Linked DNA regions of Homo sapiens: region 1 is linked to region 2. The links are contacts of gene promoters, found by promoter capture Hi-C in blood cells and fetal thymus (Javierre and others, 2016). All regions are on one chromosome and are shown on one strand. The core of a region is centred on a gene start or on the middle of the fragment in contact, and the rest is flanking DNA. Distances in the headings are between cores, read along the strand shown. Region 1 overlaps DHX37 (DEAH-box helicase 37). Region 2 holds the start of AACS (acetoacetyl-CoA synthetase).

Region 1 (3,699 bases), core at 466-2,965, 93 kb after region 2:
TGGTGGTGGACCAGACAGAGCCACCGGCCCCCGGGTCAGCATGCCAGTTGGGGGACTTGTTGTCTTTGTACGTTAGGCTCGGAGGACGCTAAGGCAGGGATGGAGTACTGGGGGCCCCTTCTCACCCAATGCCCTGCCTCCTCTCCAGGAGCAGCCACCACTGACCATCTCCTGCACGTCCTCCTGGACAATTCTGTGCATAGTTGGCATGCGTCTAGGAAAAGCTGCCTCATTCTCTTTTTAACTTGTTAAATATTATAAAAATTTGGGGACTGGGTGGCCGGGTGCGGTGGCTCACGCCTGTAATCCCAGCACTTTGGGAGGCCGAGGCAGGTGGATCATGAGGTCAGGAGATCGAGACCATCCTGGCTAACACGGTGAAACCCCATCTCTTGAAAAAAATACAAAAAATTAGCCGTGCGCAGTGGCGGGTGCCTGTAATGCCAGCTACTCGGGAGGCTGAGGCAGGAGAATGGCGTGAACCCAGGAGGCAGAGCTTGCAGTGAGCCGAGATTGAGATAGCACCACTGCAGTCTGGCCTGGGCGAAAGAGCGAGACTCCGTCTCAGAAAAAAAAAAAAAAATTTGGGGACTGGGCACGGCGGCTCACGCCTGTAATCCCAGGACTTTGGGAGGCCGAGGCAGGTGGATCACCAGAGGTTGGGAGTTTGTGACTAGCCTGACAAACATGAAGAAAACCCATCTCTACTAAAAATACAAAAAAATTAGCTGGGTGTGGTGGCACATGCCTGTAATCCAGCTATTCAGGAGGCTGAGGCAGAAGAATCCCTTGAACCCGAGAGGCGGAGGTTGCCATGAGCCGAGATCACGCCATTGCACTTCAGCCTGGGCAACAAGAGTGAGACTCCATCTCAAAAAAAAAAAAAAAAAAAAGCGTTGGGGGGGGCGCATATACATAAGTAGAAAGGATAGTATAATGAGCCCCCAGGTACCCAAGACCCAGTTGTAATAATTGTCAACTCTTGCCCTAGCCTGTTGGATCTGTACTCTCCTCCTGGCCCCCCTCCCCCCCACTGTTTAGAAGCAAATCTTAGGTATCTTATTTTATCCTCAATATTTTGCTGTACAGATCTGAGAGATAAGAACTAATTTTTTTTTTTTCTTTTTTGAGACGGAGTTTCACTTTGTCACCCAGGCTGGAGTTCAGTGGTGCGATCTTGGCTCACTGCAACCTTTGCCTCCTGGGTTCAAACGATTCTCCTGCCTCAGCCTCCCGAATAGCTGGAATTGCAGGTGCCCGGCTAATTTTTGTATTTAGTAGAGATGGGGTTTCACCATGTTGGCCAGGCTGGTCTTGAACTCCTCACCTCAGGTGATCCACCCACCTCGGCCTCCCAAAGTGTTGGGATTACAGGCGTGAGCCATTTTTTGTTTTTTGAGATGGCTCTATTGCCCAGGCTGGAGTGCAGTGGTGCCATCTTTGCTCAGTGCAGCCTCAACCTCTTGGGCACAAGTAATTCTCCCACCTCAGCCTCCTGAGTAGCTGGGACTACAGGTGCACACCACCACACCAGATTAATTTTTGAATTAAGATAAGGACTTTTTGTGAAACACATACAGCTGCAGTACCCCGATGATAGTTGCCAAGTCTGTGAAGTCTCTGGAACACACTCCAGCCCATGTGCAGGTCTCCCCGGTGTCTCCTGGCATAGTCACCATCCGAGGAGGGCTCTGGCCGAGGTGTTCAGGGCCTGGCTCCTCAGTTGCCCTTAACAGCTCCTTCCCTTCCCTTCAGAAACCAGGATTTTGGAGGGGGAGAGTGGACTGGGGAGATGTCTGGGACTTGTTTCAGGTTGCCAGCGGGCCCTGCCCTCAAGCCGCCTGCCTGCTCCACGGCCTGCCTTGTAGTGGCCCCGTGGCGACAGCCCCAGCCAGGCACGGCTCTGCCCTAACCCGAACTCTGCCCATACAGGGTCGTCTCCTACCAGATCCGGTATGAAGGAAACGTGACAGAGGAGACCAGAATCAAGTTCATGACGGATGGTGTGCTGCTTAAAGAAATCCAGAAGGTTGGTTGTGGATCCTGGCTCACAGAGCAAGGCCAGTGGGCATGGGGGCGGGATGCTAGGATGTCACCTGGGATATGAGCAGCCGGCAAGCCACCTGTTGATCCAGCACTCCCACGGTGCTGCTGTGTGACTTTGGGTGAGTTACTTAACCTCTCCAAGCTCAGTTTCTTGATGAGTATGTTGGTGCATTCCTTAGAGAATCATTTTGAAGCGGAAGTTGTAGAGTGCATGCTGACAGCTTAGCACAGTGGCCCGTACCTAGAAGGTGCTCGTGAAATGTGAACTTGTATTTTTATTGTGACTGACTCACAGAGTTCACGCCTTGCCGGGGGTGTACTGAAAGCCTGTGGTGTGCAGGCTCTGCCCTGCGGCGGGTCCAGACACAGCCCCCTCTTGGGAGCTTCGAGTCCAGTTGCGTTTGGTGAGGGGCAGCACCAGACTCGGAGTGGGGTACCAGCCTCAGGCTGAGGGAAAGGGGAGGGGCCGCTGGGGCTTGCCCTTGAGCGTCTTCACGGTCCCTGGCCTCAGAAGCTGCGTCCCAAGGACTTTCCATTTGTAAATCGGAACCCCAGCTGCTGCCTCCCTAGTCAGCCCACTTGGGCCTTGGGGAAGCACCCCATGCTTCCTAGGGAGCCGGCCATTCGGTCAAGTGGGTGGCACGCGTGTCCAGAGAGCATGCAGGGCCCGGGTGGGGGACTGCTGTCTGGTGAAGAAGCTGTGCTCCGTGCTGGCTGTGACGTCCCCTTGGGCAGGGCCAATCTCCCAGGGGGATGGCAAAGGTGATTCCAGCCCTCCTGGCTTTGAAGCCACTGGGACTCCTGGGGGTGGCAGTGGATGCAGTTTGGGTCTGGGTGGCCCCTGTCTGTGTGGCACCTGCTGTCCAACTGCCCACGGCCCCACCCCACATCTCATGTCCATTTCCCACCTGCCCTCCCACTCTGCGGGCATCTGAGTTGAGCAGCTCACCTCTGATGAAGAGCAGCTGCCCTTCCTCTAACACTGTCTCCTCAAGTGGGAGTTCTGGGACGTGAAGCGGCCCTTGGGGCTTAGGCTGGAAGGGTGGGCCTCACCCCGGACCTCCCCCCAGGACTTCCTGCTGCTGCGGTACAAGGTGGTGATCATCGACGAGGCCCACGAGAGGAGCGTGTACACGGACATCCTCATCGGCCTCCTGTCCCGCATTGTGACTCTCCGGGCTAAGGTAGCGCAGGAGGCGGGTGCTGGGGAGCCCCGAGCCCTAGGCCCCCCCCAGCTCTGTCAGAGGCTTGGGCTTCCTTCACCTGTTCCCCGTTGTACCCTGGGCTGCTGCCATGAGCAGGTACCCCGAGCACAAGGTCTCCCTGGGCCTAGGTCTAGGCCTAGTGCCAGGGCTGTGAATCTTGGAACAGCCCCTGTGTGATCCCCTCCCCACCGCCCCGGTGCCAGCCTCATAAACTGGTGTCCTTCTCCCCATCCAAAGCAAGAGGCTCAGGAGAAGTGTTGATGCCTTGCCAGGCGCAATGGGGCTGGTTGATGAGGCCTCTGGGCCTCTGGGATCAGCAGAGCAGGTGGGCCTGCCCAGCCAAGGGCCAGGCTCCCGGAGCTCTGAGAGGGGCTCCCCAGGGCCTCTTTCTCCATCTCCCTGCCCCAGCCTGACACAGGGGCCTGCTGAGTTGGTGGGTGCCACCCTG
Region 2 (3,559 bases), core at 751-3,250:
GGCTAGACAGGCACCAGACCAGCATTCTGTTATTGCTGGCAGAGGAAACAGATGGAATCAAGGCAAGGTGACACAGAGGAAGAACATAATCCCACATGGCAGCCTCCTGCTTCTTCCAGGAGTCTCCAGGCTGCCCTAATCCAACACATACTCATTTACCAACTGCTGTCCAGAAGCCCCTGGGGCAACAGACTACACCTGTCTCCAAGGGAGAGGAAGGGAAGGAGAGGAACAGCTCTGGGTTAGCCTAGGAAAATGACTCTGTGGAAGCTCCCCACTGCTGTGGAGGGCCTGGAAGCTGCCAGGCAGCCGTCTGCAATTTTGTGGTCAACAAGGAACCACTGAGAACTTCTGAGCCAAGGAGTGACAAAGTAAGACCTGTATGCTTCAAGATTACTCTGGCAAAGCAAGCAGGATGCAAATGGATGGAAAAGCAGGAAGCAGGAAAACCAACCACTGTTTGGTGAGGAGGAAAGGAGGCCCCAGAACCCCTGACAAGGGGCTGCAAAGGAGGAGATGTGAGCGACATGGGGCTGTGGCAGAAGACTTCTGGTGCCACAGGTGACTGGGGTGTCCATCCCTGTGAGCCTGAGCAAGAACAGTGACGCCACCAACAGAAACAAGGGAGTCCCTGCGCCAGCGGAGGGGGTGAGGAGGGGAGACCATGAGTTAAAAATCCCCTAGGAGGCCAGGCGCCGTGGCTCACACCTGTAATCCCAGCACTTTGGGAGGCCAAGGCGATCGGATCACCTGAGGTCAGGAGTTCGAGACCAGCCTGACCAACATGGAGAAACTCCGTCTCTACTAAAAATACAAAATTAGCCAGGCGTGGTGGTGTATGCCTGTAATCCCAGCTACTCGGGAGGCTGAGGCAGGAGAATCACTTGAACCCGGGAGGCGGAGGTTGCAGTGTGCCGAGATCTCGCCATTGCACTCCAGCCTGGGCAACGAGAGAGAAACTGTCTCAAAAAAAAAAAAAAAAAATCCCCTAGGAATACCTAGGGGAGGCAGGGTGGAGGGGTGGAGCTGGTAGTTGGGCAAGCCAGCTAGAGCTCAGGAAGAGCACCCGGAGCGGTTACCCCACGGAGAAGGAGCCTTTGCCCCACCCGCACCGAGAGAGGCAGTTTCTGAGGTTCAAGGTGATGGGTGGAAAGAGAGTCTTTTACTAGGTTCTGTTTGGGGGCTGGGAGTGTAGACACGTGGACAGGGCCTCCTGCCTGACCATCCTGCTAGGTGCTGGCCTCCAGCAGGGGCAGCTGGAGATGAGGGAGGTCAGGGGGACAGAGTGCACGGCACTGGGGACTGGCAAGGGACCCCCACAAACAGAGGAAGAGCTGCAAGTCAAAAAGGCCCTATGTCCGGGGGAAGCCCCCACAGGCCGGAGGTCAAGACTCCAGGGAGCACCTCACAGGTAGGAAAGCCTAGCAAGGGGTCACACGGTCAACAGGCAGCTGGCCCTCCCGAGGGGTGACACTCCCGGGGAGAGGGTGACCCCCACATGCAGAGGAGACGCTGCAGAGTCAGGAAGTGCCAGGAGGTGCTGTGGAGGGGTGATGTTCCCCAAGACTGGGGGGAACCCCGCAGTCAGAAGGCCTCCCCGCCATCAAGTGGCTCCTCCAGCCCCAGAAGCGTGAAACTAGCCATGGGGAGACCACCCAACCACCCTGCACGGCTCCCGCCCATCCCCCGCAGGCCCGGCCGCGCGCCCGACTCTCACCCAGCGCCAGGCCGCAGGCGGCGCCCACAGCCGCCCGGAAGCGGTCCATCTGCGTGTTCTTCTTACTGTCAGGCTCCCACATCACCTGGCACTCCAGGATCTCCTCCCGACCGGGGCGCTCCTCCTTGGACATGGCGGCGGCGGGCGGCCGGGGCTGCGACGAGGGCTGGGGACCAGGGGCCGGGGCTGAGGCGAGGGCCGGGGACCTGGGACCGGAGGAAGCGACGGTCAGGAGCGCCTGGCGGGCTGGGTCAGCGACGGCGGCGGCGGGGAACAAGGGACTGAACGGCCGCCGCCGCCTCCTGCGGGCCGCTTGGCCCAGGCCCCGCCCCGCAGGCCCCGCCTCGAATCCCCGCCCCCTTCCAGGCCCCGCCCTCCCGCCTGTAACCCTCCGCTGAGTGCAGCGCCGCTCAAAGGAGTGCTCGCAGCCGCCGGCTCCAGCGCCCGCGGCCGGGGGGCGTGGGGGTGAGGGGCGCTCACGAGCCTTGGCCCCAGCTCCCCGACCTCACCTGGAGCTGGAGGGCGTTAGGGCAGCCGGAGAAGCCAGGCGTCCGAGCCCGCTGTTTCCTACACGTGTACATCATTCATTCGCTATTTCTTCCTGCAGGTCTTTACTGAGAGCCTGCGGCATTCGGAGGACTTTGGGAGCTTTGCGGATACAGCAGCGAACAAAACAAAATTCTTGTTCTCTGTCAACAGGAGAGGAGGGGTACAGGTGTGAGGAAGACGGGAGACGATTAACAAATAAGTACATCGTGTACATACACAAGATAATGTCATAGTATAATACAATAATATACATAGTATGCCAATGGGTATCAAAATACACATTTGTGAAAGGAAAATAAATCTTGGGGCCCCACTACTAAGCTAAAGGGAAAAGAAAAGCTGGGAACTGCTTAGGGCTAACCTGCCTCCATTCTATTCAAAGTCACCCCTCTGCTGAGTTAAATGCACACCTGATTGCCTCCTTTGCAGAGGCTAATTGAAAACTCAAAAGAATGCAGCCATTTGTCCCTTATCTACCTATGACCTGGAAGGCCCCCTCCCCGCCTTAGCTTTTTTTTTTTTTTTGAGTCTCACTCAGTCGCCCAGGCTGGAGTGCAATGTCCCAATCTCAGCTCACTGTAACCTCTGCTTCCCAGGTTCAAGCGATTCTCCTGCCTCAGCCTCCTGAGTAGCTGGGATTACAGGCACACGCCATCATGCCCAGCTAATTTTTCGTGTTTTTTTTTTTGTTGTTGTTGTTGTTTGTTTTGTTTTTTTGAGACGAAGTTTCGCTCTTGTTACCCAGGCTGGAGTGCAATTGCGAGATCTCGGCACACGGCAACCTCCATCTCCCAGGTTAAAGCAATTCTCCTGCCTCAGCCTCTCGAGTACCTGGGATTACAGGCATGTGCCACCACGCCTGGCTAATTTTGTATTTTTAGTACAGACAGGGTTTTTCCATGTTGGTCAGGCTGGTCTCCAACTCCCGGCCTCAGGTGATCCGCCCGCCTCAGCCTCCCAAAGTGCTGGAATTACAGGCGTGAGCTACCGAGCCCGGCTCATTTTTGCATTTTTGTAGAGACGGGATTTCACCATGTTGGCCAGGCTGGTCTTGAAGTCCTGACCTCAGGTGATCCACCCGCCTCGGCCTCCCAAAGTGCTGGGATTACAAGAGTGAGCCCAGGTCTGAGAGCACCCCCTCCAGAGCCTCCCTGATCTCCCAAAATTTGGTGGAGATCTAAAGTTTATTTTGCTGTACAACTCTTTTCTTTGCAGTTTTACTTGCTTCCAACAAGGAAGGCAAGGTTTCCTGCTTCCATGACAATGGAAGGCAGGTAACTCCTTTATGGAGTT

What was found. The method cuts DNA at HindIII sites, captures the fragments that hold promoters and counts their contacts. A CHiCAGO score of 5 or more calls a contact.
Region 1: a contact is called between a fragment that was not itself captured here and the fragment with the promoter of AACS in region 2, in 1 of 17 cell types (neutrophils). The highest score is 5.2, in neutrophils.

What each region holds. Positions count from the first base shown.
Region 1 is chr12:124,970,833-124,974,531 of GRCh38, reverse strand. It overlaps DHX37 (DEAH-box helicase 37), which reads left to right. Exons shown (of 27, transcript NM_032656.4): 7 at 1,933-2,029; 8 at 3,117-3,230. Among named protein-coding and RNA genes, the nearest start is that of DHX37, 16 kb to the left of the region's middle. The HindIII fragment of the contact is 4,811 bases long and covers 1-3,699 here.
Region 2 is chr12:125,063,876-125,067,434 of GRCh38, reverse strand. It overlaps AACS (acetoacetyl-CoA synthetase), which reads right to left and starts at 2,000. Exons shown (of 18, transcript NM_023928.5): 1 at 1,718-2,000. The coding sequence starts at 1,850. LOC105370052 (a long non-coding RNA gene) reads left to right here. Exons shown (of 4, transcript XR_001749365.2): 3 at 2,325-2,432. RefSeq lists a silencer at 1,740-2,359. The HindIII fragment of the contact is 11,218 bases long and covers 1-3,559 here.